Linked DNA regions of Homo sapiens: regions 2 and 3 are each linked to region 1. Evidence: promoter capture Hi-C in 16 types of primary human blood cells and fetal thymus (Javierre and others, 2016). All regions are on one chromosome and are shown on one strand. The core of a region is centred on a gene start or on the middle of the fragment in contact, and the rest is flanking DNA. Distances in the headings are between cores, read along the strand shown. Region 1 holds the start of CYP4F2 (cytochrome P450 family 4 subfamily F member 2). Region 2 overlaps CYP4F8 (cytochrome P450 family 4 subfamily F member 8). Region 3 holds the start of CYP4F3 (cytochrome P450 family 4 subfamily F member 3).

Evidence for each region. The method cuts DNA at HindIII sites, captures the fragments that hold promoters and counts their contacts. A CHiCAGO score of 5 or more calls a contact.
Region 2: a fragment that was not itself captured here is called in contact with the fragment with the promoter of CYP4F2 in region 1 in 1 of 17 cell types (M0 macrophages); the score reaches 5.8 in M0 macrophages.
Region 3: the fragment with the promoter of CYP4F3 here is called in contact with the fragment with the promoter of CYP4F2 in region 1 in 4 of 17 cell types (total CD4 T cells, total CD8 T cells, naive CD8 T cells and 1 more); the score reaches 6.8 in total CD4 T cells.

What each region holds. Positions count from the first base shown.
Region 1 is chr19:15,895,900-15,900,621 of GRCh38, reverse strand. CYP4F2 (cytochrome P450 family 4 subfamily F member 2) reads left to right here and starts at 2,548. Exons shown (of 13, transcript NM_001082.5): 1 at 2,548-2,596; 2 at 3,010-3,208. The coding sequence starts at 3,011. The HindIII fragment of the contact is 3,476 bases long and covers 284-3,759 here.
Region 2 is chr19:15,618,658-15,623,379 of GRCh38, reverse strand. It overlaps CYP4F8 (cytochrome P450 family 4 subfamily F member 8), which reads right to left. Exons shown (of 13, transcript NM_007253.4): 4 at 3,837-3,890; 5 at 3,618-3,745; 6 at 1,040-1,161; 7 at 5-275. Among named protein-coding and RNA genes, the nearest start is that of CYP4F8, 5.8 kb to the right of the region's middle. The HindIII fragment of the contact is 5,324 bases long and covers 1-4,722 here.
Region 3 is chr19:15,638,192-15,642,913 of GRCh38, reverse strand. It overlaps CYP4F3 (cytochrome P450 family 4 subfamily F member 3), which reads right to left and starts at 2,017. Exons shown (of 13, transcript NM_000896.3): 1 at 1,969-2,017; 2 at 1,301-1,499. The coding sequence starts at 1,498. The HindIII fragment of the contact is 7,096 bases long and covers 583-4,722 here.

The sequences.
Region 1 (4,722 bases), core at 1,299-3,798:
TGGTGTGTCCGGAATTGGTGGGTTCTTGGTCTCACTGACTTCAAGAATGAAGCCGCGGACCCTCGCGGTGAGTGTTACAGCTCTTAAGGTGGCGCGTCTGGAGTTTGTTCTTTCTGATGTTCAGATGTGTTCGGAGTTTCTTCCTTCTGGTGGGTTCGTGGTCTCGCTGGCTCAGGAGTGAAGCTGCAGACTTTCGCGGTGAGTGTTACAGCTCATAAAAGCAGTGTGAACCTAAAGAGTGAGCAGCAGCAAGATTTATTGCAAAGAGTGAAAGAACAAAGCTTCCACAATGTGGAAGGGGGCCTGAGCGGGTTGCCACTGCTGGCTCGGGCAGCCTGCTTTTATTCTCTTATCTGGCCCTACCTATGTCCTGCTGATTGGTAGAGCCAAGTGGTCTGTTTTGACAGGGCGCTGATTGGTGCGTTCACAATCCTTGAGCTAGACACAAAGGTTCTCCACGTCCCCACCAGACTCAGAAGCCCAGCTGGCTTCACCCAGTGGATCCCGCACCGGGGCTGCAGGTGGAGCTGCCTGCCAGTCCCGCGCCGTGCGCTCGCACTCCTCAGCCCTTGGGTGGTCGATGGGACTGGGCGCCCTGGAGCAGGGGGCGGCGCTCATCGGGGAGGCTCGGGCTGCACAGGAACCTACGGAGGCCGGGGGCTCAGGCATGGCGGGCTGCAGGTCCTGGGCCCTGCCCCGCGGGAAGGCAGCTAAGGCCCGGCGAGAAATCGAGCGCAGCGCCGGTGGGCTGGCACTGCTGGGGGACCGAGTACACCTTCCCGAGCAGCCGCTGGCCCGGGTGCTAAGCCCCTCATTGCCCGGGGCTGGCAGGGCCGGCCGGCTGCTCCGAGTGCGGGGCCTGCCAAGCCTACGCCCACCTGGAACTCTAGCTGGCCCGCAAGTGCCGCGCGCAGCCCCGGTTCGTACTCGCGCCTCTCCCTCCATACCTCCCTGCAAGCTGAGGGAGCCGGCTCTGGCCTTGGCCAGCCTAGAAAGGGGCTCCTACACCTATAAGTGAGAATATGCGGTGTTTGGTTTTTTGTTCTTGCGATAGTTTACTGAGAATGATGATTTCCAATTTCATCCATGTCCCTACACAATGAGAACATATGGACACAGGAAGGGGAACATCACACTCTGGGGACTGTTGTGGGGTGGGGGGAGGGGGGAGGGATAGCATTGGGAGATATACCTAATGCTAGATGACGAGTTAGTGGGTGCAGCGCACCAGCATGGCACATGTATACATATGTAACTAACCTGCACATTGTGCGCATGTACCCTAAAACTTAAAGTATAATAATAATAATAAAAAAATCCAAAAAAAAAGAAAAGAAGAGAAAAGAAAGGGGCTCCCACAGTGCAGCGGTGGGCTGAAGGGCTCCTCAAGTGCCGCCAAAGTGGGAGCCCAGGCAGAGGAGGCGCCGAGAGCGAGTGAGGGCTGTGAGGACTGCCAGCATGCTGTCACCTCTCAGTGGGAGCAGGTGTGACAAGAGTTGGGCAAATCAGACCTTTAATCCACCCTGATAGGCTGGAGTGTGGGCTTATGGCATTTCTCCTTTGACCCAATTAACCTCCACTCCCAATGTATCTCTGTGCAGAAGGCTCAGCTAGGTGTATCAGCCATTGTAAATCCTCAACATAAATTATAATTTAACCTAGAATACAGAGACTAGGTAGCAGGAGGAGAGGAAATGTAGAGATACTAATCTCTTCTCCCTTATCAGAAAGAAACCTAGCATAAGAAATTTCACGCTTAATGGGCCAAAGAGTAAATCAGAAAACTCCATGGGTGATGGTATGCTCATGGTGGTGGTGGTGGTGATGGGGAATTATTTGCCCTCCTGTGACCTCCCTTGGATTAATTTCTCCCCAGGACAATGGGAAAAATCATTTAATCCTTGGAGTTTTTTTTTTTTTTTTTTTTTTTTTTTTTTTTTTTTTTGCTTGAGAGTGACTCTGATCCTGTTTCTGATGGTCATGTTCCTCAGCATCATACTGAGTAAGTCACTGGCCTTGTAGCATCTGGAGTGATTGGAGTGATCCAAGATCCCTAGTTCCCATGTCACAAATGAGGATCCCACATATCTGGGACAGAGATGGAACATTATTTCTGGGTGTGTCTATCTAATCTATTCATCCTATCTATCTAATTTCTCATCTATATATATATTTGCCTACCCATCCATCCATCAATCCATCTTAGCTGTACGTTTATCCATTCCATCTATTTATCCTATTATCTATGTATCTATCTATCATCTATTAATAGCTATCTATCCATCTGTCTAATATATCCATTATCTATATCTACTTTATCTATCTACCTAATGTATCCATCCTATCTACTCTATCTATCTGTGCATCTACCCATCCATCTGGACCCTGAGCTGATTCCTCTGCACCCAGCTGGCCTGACGCCAGGTGTTGATTGGCTGCCCAGGCTCAGGAGACACATCCAGGCTGCAGGGATTGGTTGGCCCAGCCCAACCCAGCCAGCCCTCCCACAGCCTTTGCTATATCAAGGGCCAGGGTCAAAGGCCTCCCAGCAGACAGAGAGAGGAGGTTGTCTGGGACAGACTGCTCCTGACAGAAGGTGCCAGGCTGGGGGTGGCAGGCCTGGGGGGGGTCCTGGCCTGGGATGGAGAGGGGCACTGCCCAAGGCCCACGCAGCTCCTGGGTGCTGGCCTGGAGGATGGGTGGTTTCCGAGTAACTGAAACCAAGCCCCTGGCAACCTCACAGTGATTCAGGCTGGGCCTTTCTGGACTTTAATCAGTCTCTCTCTCTCTTTCCCATTCTAAGTGCTTACTAGGGAACTGGAGGCCACTTGGCTGCTGGTTTTGGTTGGGCCTTTCTGGACTTTACCTCTCAGCCCCTTTTTACCCATCCCTGAGCCCTCCCTGCTCTACCTCCGGCACTGCCCGTCCCTGCCTCTCCACTGTCCCTGGAGGTCCCTGGGCCGTTCTCTGGGCCTCAGGATCTCACCGTCCATCCCGTCTGCCCTGCAGGATGTCCCAGCTGAGCCTGTCCTGGCTGGGCCTCTGGCCAGTGGCAGCATCCCCTTGGCTGCTCCTCCTGCTGGTCGGGGCCTCCTGGCTCCTGGCCCATGTCCTGGCCTGGACCTACGCCTTCTATGACAACTGCCGCCGCCTTCGGTGTTTCCCACAACCCCCAAGACGGAACTGGTTTTGGGGACACCAGGGCATGGTGAGTGTGGCAGCAGGATGGGTCTAGGTCTCAGGATGGATGGACTTCCTGAGGGGTACGAGGCTTAGGGAGTGGGGGTGAAGGGGTGGGCTGGGATCTGGGGTGGCAGAGAAGCAGAGGAGGCATCTTACTCATTCCTCTGCTTATTCATTTCTGTGAGGTGCCTACGCAAGCCCTTCTCACTTCCTTGTCCTCCCACTCCAGGCCTGCATTGAATCCTTTTCCTGCCTGTCTTCCCACATTAATGCACCTCTGCGGGGCTCCTGGGCAGAGGGTTGGCTGCACAGAGAGGCGAGTCCCTGGCATTCCCACATTCTCCATTGCTGGACTCGAGGCTTCTTATGCCCACTGTCCAGGGTCCTCTCCTTGCCTGGACTATTTCCTGTTATGAGGGTACAGCTGGGCCAGAGGAGAGGCATGGGCCGTCTCCCACTTCCACTACACCCGAAGGCACCTTTCTCTTATATTCTTCTTCTTATCTCCCTCTTATCAATGAGACCTGTTGCCAAACCCAGATAAAAGTTGGCCACTCACTTCACCTTTCAGAAGCTTTCCTTGGCCTTTCTCCTCCCCGTGACCTTGCCCTCTGACTTAGACCGCTCTCCTCTTTGGGGAATGTGGTCTTAGTCTGCTCATTTGCAAATGGCAGGATTGATGGATGTGTCCACAGATAAAGTGGAAGGGTGCACAGGACACACTAGCACAGAGCCTGCTGCAGAAGCTGCTCCCAGGTGGGAGCCATTGTCCTGATGGACAGTTAGAGTCACCTCTGCTCCACTAGTGGCTGCTGAAAAGGGAAGGTCTCCCATGTGCAGAACCTTCTCCATGGGAGGAACTGGAGCCTCTGTGGATCAGCCAGGACATGAAGGCATGTGGGGACCAGCCTTAGGGACATGTCCTGAGGCGATACTGCTCCCCACAAATCTCCCCTGTGAGGACCTCCCCATATAGCTGCCTCTGGGCTGAAATGACTCCCAGAAAAAGAAAATCCTTCCTCTCAAGATAACTGGGCCTCTGTGAGTGGACAGTGCGTCTTCTCCCTCTGCCCTGGGATGCACCCTTGGGACTTGGAGATGGACCCAAGAGAGATAGAGCAGGAGGAATGTGGATAGATAGATAGATAGAGCAGGAGGAATGTAGATAGATAGATAGATAGATAGATAGATAGATAGATAGATAGCTAATAGGATAGATAGATAGATGCACAGATAGGATGGATAGATGGATGGATGGATGGATGGACAGGCACGTAGGTAGATAGATAATAGAATAGATGGATGCATGGACACATGGATGCACAGATAGCATGGATGGATGGATGGATGGATGGATGGATGGATGGATAGATAGATAGACAAATAATAGGACATATGGATGCATGGACACACGGATGCACAGATAGGATGGATGGATGGATGGATGATGGATGGATGGGTAGATAGAGTAGATAGGATGGATAGATTATGTAGACAGATGGAGTAGATATATATGATGGATAGATTAGACGGATAGAT
Region 2 (4,722 bases), core at 1,256-3,755, 280 kb after region 1:
CCACCTCGCTCAGCAGGAGCACATCAATAAAGTCCAAAGTCTTGGACTTGGCCTTGGCTTGGAGGAAGTCATCAACACCCTGGCTAGTGAGGGTGCGGCGCCGCTCCTGGATGACGGCATCTGTGAAGTCGTGCACCAGTCTGCAGGCCCTGTGGAAGCGCCGTCCACAGGGAGTGAGGAAGTACAGGAAGTCCTTGTACCGGAAGAACTGGTTATTCCGTTTCACTACAAGGGCACTGAGCTCCATGATCGCAGTAATATATTCACTGGGCTTCCTGCAGGGCCAGTCCAGAGAGAGGAAGCAGCTCCTTACCCACATGAAAGCCTGGGAGCACCTTCCAGCCAGAATCCCAGGACCACATTCCATGCAGAAAGGGGTGTCCTGCAAGCGCACTTCACTCTCTGCCTCCCACTCTCTGTGAGCTGCCTCCTGCCCCAGGTCCCCAGGGCACAGCTTGGCCATCATGGGCATCTCCTCTCTCTGTCTTATAAAACATCTGCTCCTGCCTATTATTACTCAGTTTCTCCCAAATCTGCCCCATTTTCTCCACCAAACTCAGACCTCCTCTCCCTGGCATCCTTGCATGCTGTGTCTACATGACAGTCAATCTTCCATAGAGTCCCATAGAGTCCAGTGTCCAAGCTCAGTACTGACCATGTCTCTCATCTGCTCAAACACCTCCATGGCTCCTTAGGAACCTTGGATAAAATGCATCTCCCTTTGTCTGACTTTTCAAGATCCTTAAGATCTAGTTAACTGCCAACCCCTCCACCTTCATTTCCAAGTGTCTCCCAACTGCCTGTTGCACATGCTCTGTTCATCTTAGCCTCCTTGCCTTGACCCAAACAGTTCCACTTGTTTGGAGGAAACTTCTCTTTCTCTCGCTCTCTCTCTCTCTCCTTCTCTCCTTCTTTGTCCTTCAATGCCTAGTTCTCATCATCTCTCCAGGAAGGCTCTTCTTGTCTCCCTGGGCTTTGCTCTCCCCACACCCACACCCCCACTCCATCCCATGTTCCCAGGCCCTGGGCAAGAACTCACTCCTGACAATTGCTGTCAAAGCTGAAGATGCATTTCTGCAGACTGTCCAGGGTCATAAGGCTGATGTGCTCAAACACATCCAGACAGGTGCTGCCCTCCATGGCCAGGCGTTGCCACTTGGCCTGGCCAGAGAAGGGAGCAGGGCTGGGGCCAGGCCTTGGCTCCTCTGAGTCCCCCTGCAACCCCAACCACCAGGATGGACTCCCCCAGAGGCATGCTCCTGGTTTTCTGTCCCAGACCCCCATCCTCAGGGAGGACTACGCTTGGGTGAGAGTGGAAGCTGTTACTATTAGGAGATGAAGATCCCATGGCTGGGTTCAAGCCCCAGCTGTGATTCCTAAGCTGTGTGTACCCTTGGTCAACTCACAGCCCTCCTCTAGGTCTCACCTGTCAAATCCTCAATAGCAATCAAGATGACCTGCTTTGATGCCAGGGAGCCAGGCTAGAACCCCTTTTCCCCCACTCTTAGACTCACTGACAAGCTGGGTGAACTTGGGAAATCTCTCTAACCTCTCTGGCCCTCAGTTTCACCATTTGTCATGGCATGGGGGAGAGGGTGGAAAATATCCTCTACTTCACAAGGCGGTGTAAATTAAATGAGACCACATACACCATGGAATAGGCATATTACATCATTTCTGTCATATGATGAGTTCTCAATAAATATTATCTTGATTCATCTTCATTGTTATAAATTGATTACAAAAAGTCCCTGTGATCCCCCTGAACATTTTTTTCTGAGCATGCCAAGAATGCAAAACTCTGAAGTTTTGTTGTTGTTGTTGTTTGTTTGTTTTGTTTGTTTGCTAGTTTTTGAGATGGAGTCTCGTTCTGTTGCCCAGGCTGGAGTGCAGTGGCACAGTCTTGGCTCACTGCAACCTCTGCCTGCTGGGTTCAAGCAATTCTCCTGTCTCAGCCTCCTGAGTAGCTGGGGTTACAGGCACGCACCACCACGCCCTGCTAATTTTTGTATTTTTAGTAGAGACAGGGTTTTGCCATGTTGGCCAGGCTGGTCTCGAACTCCTGACCTCAAGTGATACCAATGTGCTGGGATTACAAGCATGAGCCACCACACCCGGTCAACCCTGAGGTTCTTAATCTGGGCTATTTCTCAGCATTGTGTTTGCAGAGAACAGCCTTGGGGTATAAGGTAATGGCTCCTCTGGGACACACGTTAGGCTTATTCTGCTTGCTCTAAAAGCTGATTCTCTAAGCCTAATGCTCCTCCCCATCATGCAAATATACTACATGGCAGGCATCTATAGAAGCCCACCTTATCACCCCAGGGAATTTGGGTGGCTTAGAGAAAGGATCCAAACCAACAAGATGCACATGCCACTTGCTGAGACATGAGTAATAAACTTTTGTCTTTGACCCAGAAGTCTCGTGTCTTCTGGCAGAATCCATGCAAAAGTAACAAGCTAATTTATTAGCTCACAGGAGAAAAAAAAATCCTAGTCGTTTCACAAAACGCTTGGCTCCATTTCTTCTCTTCTCCCTGCATCCACATCTTTTGCAATGTGATTTTTTAGCAACTTCCATTAAGAGATGGAGCCTATTTTGCCCCACATTGATTCATGGTGGACGTTTTACTTTTTTTGGCCAATAGAATGTGGTGAAAATGATAAGGCCATAACTAGTGAGAAGTTGACTGGGTGCAGCAGCCCATGCCTGTAATTCCAGCATTTTGTGAGGCCGAGGAGGGCAGATCACTTGACGTCAGGAGTTCAAGACCAGCCTGCCCAACATGGTGAAACCCTGTCTCTACTGAAGATACAAAAAATTAGTTGGGCATGGTGGTGGGCGCCTGTAATTCCATCTACCCACGAGGCTAAGACAGGAGAATTGCTTGAGGCGGGGGTTGCAGAGAGCCAAGATCGCACCACTGCACTCCAGCCTGGGAGACAAAGCGAGACTTCATCTCAAAAATAAAATAAATAATAATAACTAGTGAGAAGCATTGTATCCTCCTCTCACTGCCTTGGAATCCTGTCTCTGCCATGTGAGCAATCCTGGGGTGTCATCTAGAGGCAGAGAATCACATGGAGAAAAGTCCAGGTGTCCCAGCTGAGGCCATCCTAAATCAGCCAGAAGCCAGCAAAGCTCCAAATATGTGAGAGAACTGAGCTGGCACAAGCAAAGCTGCCTACCTGACCCACAGCTGCTCTTATACCATGAGGGATCCTATCCACATGCAGAAGGGCTGGCCAACAGTCCCACAGATTTGTTAGCAAATATAAACCCTTATTGCTCTAAACCAATTAGTTTTGAAGTGATCTGTACTCAGCAATGACTACTATGCACGTGTCATCATTCCTTTCTTGAGTTTACAGGGCTTCTGTGAGAAAAATGTGGAAATTGACTCCTTCTGACCACCTACTAAGTGTCAGAGACATGAGTCCATTACATGCTCCTACCACCTTTTAGTGAGGATTATTAGCCTCATGGGGAAATCAAGGCACAGAGAGGAAGAGCAATGGCCCCAAACCCACCCAGGAGAGCCAACATTCCAGACCCAATTGTATGTGATCCCTCCACCCCAAGGCTGCAGCTGGGATGCTGAGTTCAAGGCACTCACATGCATGATGTTTGCACTCTTGCTGAAAATCTTTATATAGGGCTTCAGGATGTTGAAATGGAAGGCAGGCGTCAGCAAGCGACGGTGGTGTCTCCACTTGTCACCAACACTTAACAAGAGCCCATCCCCTAGTACGGCAGCCAAAGGCTGTGGGCAAGGGCAGAATCTTCCCCTGGCCACAAAAGTTGGTCCCCGTCCCGTCCACCTACAGTTACTTACCCAGCCAGGGCTTCAGGGTCTTGTAGAAGACTATGTCCTTGTCTGTAATGGCATCTGACATGAATGAGGACCATCAGGGTCCATGGAGAGGAATAGAGGAGGGACTTTGGGTATGGAGGGTGGCTCCCAGCCAGAGGTTTGGACGTCTTTTCTCCAAGCCCAGCATAGCAGGAAGGAGGCCATGGGCAGAAGAAGAAAGGAGGGTGGGGGGCATAAAGGGGACCGGACTAGGCTGCAACAACACTATAGAGCAATGATACACCCTGACATGGTACAGCACACCCAGCATGTCTTGACATGGCTCCTACATGGTCCAACATGTTCTGCAACACCCAAGCATAAGTCAACACTCTACAAAACACATTTACAGAATAAGAGTTAAAGACAGAATTCTGATGATATTAGGTGAGACCTGGATCCAGTTGTGCCTGAAGGCCAACCTCCCTGGATGTTGCAGTCAATAGCTTCTCTTTAATGGCTTAGACTGCGTGGGGTTGAGTTTCTACCACTCACAATGGAAAGACACCTCAGCACCCATAGAGAGCCGTGGACCTGCCCAGAGTCACTCAGCATTTTGGGGCTTGAGCCATGGTCTCTGTGGCGTGATACCCCTTCTGCTGCTCTCCCTGGCCTGTCCAAAGATGGGAAGGGCAGAGGGCAAGGGTACGGCTCCAGGCTGGGGTGGTGTCTCCTATTGGAGATTCCTGGGGCCTGGAGCAAGAGGGCAATGAACATATGGTGGAAGTGCCACAGGATGGGATTAGAAGGAATCGACCCACAAGAGGTGAATGTCATGGAAATAGCAGCCTAGATCTTCCACCAACCACAACTCCTTCTCATCTTCTTGTCCTTGCTCTGGGCCTGCAGAAGGACAAGGCCAATGCCA
Region 3 (4,722 bases), core at 768-3,267, 260 kb after region 1:
CCATCCATCCATCCATCCATCCATCCATCTTATCCATGCATCCATCTGTCCATCCATCCATCTATCCTGTTATCTATCTATCTATCTGTCTATCTACCCACCTACTTATCCAGCCAGCCAGCCATCTATTCACCCTATCTGTGCATCCATCCATCCATCTATCCTATTACCTATCTATCTGTCTACATTCCTCCTGCTCTATCTCTCTTGGGGCCACCCCCAAGTCCCAAGAGCGCATCCCAAGGCAGAAGGAAAAGACACACTGTCCACTCACAGAGGCCCACTTAGCTTGAGAGGAAAAATTTCCTTGTTCTGGGAGTCATTTCAGCCCAGAGGTGGGCATATGAGGAGGTCCTCACAGGGGAGGTTTGTGGGGAGCAGTGTGGACTCAGGACATGTCCCTAAGGCTGGTCCCCACATCCCTTCATGCCCTGGCTGGTTCCTCCACCAGCCACACAGGTTCCAGTTCCTCCCATGGAGAAGGTTCTGCACACAGGGGACCTTCCCTTCTCAGCAGTCACTAGGGGAGCAGAGGTGACTCTAACTGTCCATCATGACAGTGGCTCCCACCTGGGAGAAGCTTCTGCACCAGGCTCTGTGCTAGTGCATCCTGTGCACCCTCCCACTTCACCTGTGGACACACCCATCAATCCTGCCATTTGCAATGAGCAGATTGAGACCACGTTCCGCAAAGGGGAGAGCAGGTCTAAGTCAGAGGGCAAGGTCTGGGGGAGGAGAAAGGTCAGGGAAGGCTTCTGAAAGGGGAAGTGAGTGGCCAACTTTTATGTGGGTTTGGCAACAGGACCCCATTGGGACATCTTACTGGGGAGGAACAAGATAAGAGGAAGGTGCCTCCGGATGTGGTGGAGGTGAGAGACAGCCCACACCTCTCCTCTGGCCCACCTATACCCTCATAAGAGGAAATAGGCCAGGTAGGGAGAGGACCCTGAACAGTGGGTACAGGAGGCCTCGAGTCCAGCAATGGAGAATGTGGGAACGCCAGGGGTTCACCTTTCTGTGCACCCAACCCCCTGCCCAAGAGCCCCGCAGAGGTGCATTAATGTGGAAAGACAGGCAGGAAAAGGATTCAACACAGGCCAAGAGTGGGAGAACAGGGAGGTGAGAAGGGCTTGGGTTGGCACCTCACAGAAATGAGTAAGCAGAGGAATGAGTAAGACGCCTCCCCTGCTTCTCTGCCACCCCAGACCCCAGCCCACCCCCTCTCACCTGAGCCTCATTCTTACCCCTCAGGAAGTCCATCCACCCTGAGACCCCAGACCCGTCCTGCTGCCACACTCACCAGGCCCAGGTGACCCAAGAACCAATTCCGTTTCGGGGGTTGCGGGAAACACCGGAGGCGGCAGCAGTTGTCATAGAAGGTATAGGTCCAGGCCAGGATGCGGGCCAGGAGCCAGGAGGCCCCAACCAGCAGCAGGAGCAGCCACGGGGATGCTGCCATTGGCCAAAGGCCCAGCGAGGACAGGCTCAGCTGTGGCATCCTGCAGGGCAGATGGGGTGGTGAGTGAGGTCCTGAGGCCCAGGGAAGGGCCCAGGGAGCTCCAGGGACAGTGGAGAGAGGCAGAGACGGGCAGTGCTGGAGATAGAACAGTAAGAGTAAACAGGGATGGATAAACAGGGGCTGAGGGGTAAAGTCCAGAAAGGCCCAGCCAAAACCAGCAACCAAGTGGCCTCCAGTTACCCGGTAAGCACTTAGATTGAGAAAGACAGAGAAACTGATTAAAGTCCAGAAAGGCCCAGCCTGAATCATTAGGACGTTGCCAGGGGCTTGGTTTCAGTTAGAAAACCACTCATCCTCCAAGCCAGCAACCAGGAGCTGCCTGGGCCTTGGGCAGCAATGGAGAATGTGGGAAGGCTGGGGCTCCCCTATGTGTGCGCCCAATCCCTTGCCCAGTGCCCATCTCCATCACAGGCTAGGATGCCCCAGGCCCACCACCCCCACCCTGGCACCTTCTGTCAGGAGCACCTTGTCCCACACAACCTCCTCTCCCCTTCTTCTGGGAGGTTTTTTCCCCTGGCCCCTGATGTAGGGAAGGCTGTGGGAGGCTAGGCTGGGCTGGGCTGGGCCAGCCAATCCCCACAGCCTGGGTGCCGCTCCCATGTCTGGGCAGCTGGCCAAAACCTGGGTGTGGGAGACCAGCTGGATGCAGAGGAACCAGCTCAGGGTGACACAGCACAGGCACTGGATCCTCAGGTCTCAGCACCTCCCACATAAGGTGGAGAGTAAGCCGAGAGGGGTCAGATAGAGTTTCCACTGTGTGACACCTGCTCTTAAAGAGCACCTACTGAGTGTGTGGCAGATAAAAGCATGAACTTGAGAGTTCAGGTGTCAAGCGAGCCAGGCCAGGCCAAGCCTTGTTCCAGATCATCTCCTGTGCTCCTCTCTAACCCTGGGCCGGTAGGACACCGTGTACCACTTCTGGATGCTGAATCAGGCAACCTGGAAGAGACAAGCCTCTATCCCCCTGCTGCTGGATGGAGTTCAAGTCTTGCCTCCAGGCAGTCCAGGGCCCTGTTGGAGACCTGACTGCTAGGAACGGGAACAAAGAATCCAGCCCCACTGAGGATTACCTGGGTCAGATTCTGGAGATTAAGAGCTCAGCTGGAAAAGCAAATCTGGAGGCCGGACTCAGTATAGGAGGACAGAGCGGGGACGTGGAGGGTTAGGATGAGAGGGAACGGATGGGGTCCAGGCAGGGGAAGGGCAGAGCCAGGGAACCATGAATGGAGTCCTCATTCTGCCTCATCCTTGCTCTGACTTTGGTCAGTACTGCCCCTCCTGGGTGCAGTCTTCCCATCTGGGAAATGGGATGTTCGATGAGGGCCTTAGCGGGGGACAATGAGGGCTCCTAAGAGGAGGGAGCCCCAAAAAGGAGTGAAGGGAAAGGGTGGCAACTAGCACTTGAGCTGCTGTGTGCCAGTCTCTACTCTGCACAAAGGCTGCATGGAAAGTACTTCTACTGTGTGCCAATACTCTAAATGAAGGGCAGCTACTGTGTGCCAGGTGCTAAATCCTGTCTACTCTGTGCCAAGTGCTTTCCATAAAGTGTGCCTACTGTGTGCCAGGTGCTCTACATTAACCCTGTATACTCAGTTCCTGATATTCCTCATAGAGTGCCTACTGTGTGCCACCTGCTCTACATAGTGAGTGCCTATTGAGTGCCACCCCCTGTATATGAAGAGTGCCCACTGAGCACCAGTTGCTGTCTACATAACACATGCCTACTGAGTGCCAAGTGCTCTACATAAACAGTGCCTACTGATACCACCTGCTCTATATGGTGACTTCCTACTGAGTGTTTCCTGATCTACATAAAGAGGGTCTATTGAGTGCTGCCTGCTCGAGTGTTGCCTGTGCTCCATAAAGTGTACCTACTGTGGGCTGCCTTCTGTACATAAAGGGTGCCTACTGAGTGCTGCTTGCTCTACATGAAGAGTTCCTACTCTTGCCTGCGCTACATAAAAAGTGCCTACTCAGTACCACCTGCAATACATAAAGAGTGCCTACTGGCCAGGCACAGTAGCTCATGCCTGTAATCCAAGCACTTTGGGAGGCCAAGGCAGGCAGATCATCTGAGGTCGGGAGTTCAAGACCAGCCTGGCCAACATGGTGAAACCCCATCTCTACTAAAAATACAAAAATTAGCCGGGCGTGGTGGCGGGCACCTATGATCCCAGCTACTCGGGAGGCTGAGGCAGGAGAATCTCATGAACCCGGGAGGCAGAGTTTGCAGTGAGCTGAGTTCATACCACTGCACTCCAGCCTGGGCAACAGAGTGAGACTCTGTCTCACAAAAAAATAAAAAAGAGAGAGAGCCCATTGAATGCCACTTGCTCTAGATAAAGAGTGCCTACAGATGCCACCTGCTCTATATAAAGAGTGTTTACTGAGTATCATCTGCTCCTGATAAAGAGTGCCTACTCACTGCTGCCTGCTCTACATAAAGAGTGCCTACTGCTGCCACCTGCTCTTCATAGTGTGCCCACTCTGTGACTCATGGTCTACATATGGTCTACATAGAGTTTCTACTGTGTGACACCTGCTCTTAAAGAGTGCCTACTGGGCCAGGCACAGTGGCTTACACCTGCAATCCCAGCACTTTGGGAGGCCGAGGCGGGCAGATCACGAGGTCAGCAGTTCGAGACCAGCCTGACCAACATGGTGAAACCCTGCTTCTACTAAAATTACAAAAAATTAGCTGGGCATGGTGGTGTGTGCCTGCAATCCCAGCTACTCAGGAGGCTGAGGCAGGAGAATTGCTTGAACCCAGGAGGCAGAGGTTGCAGTGAGCTGAGATCATGCCACTGCACTTCAGCCTAGGAGACAGAGCGATACTCATCATCAAAAAAAAAAAAAGAGTGCCTACTGAGTAAATGTTTTTTTGGTTTTTTGCTTTTTTTTGGTTTTGGTTTTTTTTTTTTTTTTTTTGAGACGGAGTCTCACTCTTGTTGCCCAGGCTGGAGTGCAATGGCCCTATCTTGGCTCACAGCAACCTCCGCCTCCGATTCTCCTGCCTCAGCCTCCCAAGCAACTGGGATTATAGGCATGCAGCACCATGCCCAGATAATTTTGTATTTTTAGTAGAGACAAGGTTTCTCCATTTTGGTCAGGCTGGTCTCCAACTCCCAACCTCAGGTTATCCTCCTGCCTCGGACTCCCAAAGTGCTTGGATTATAGGCATGAGCCACTGTGCCTGGCCGTAA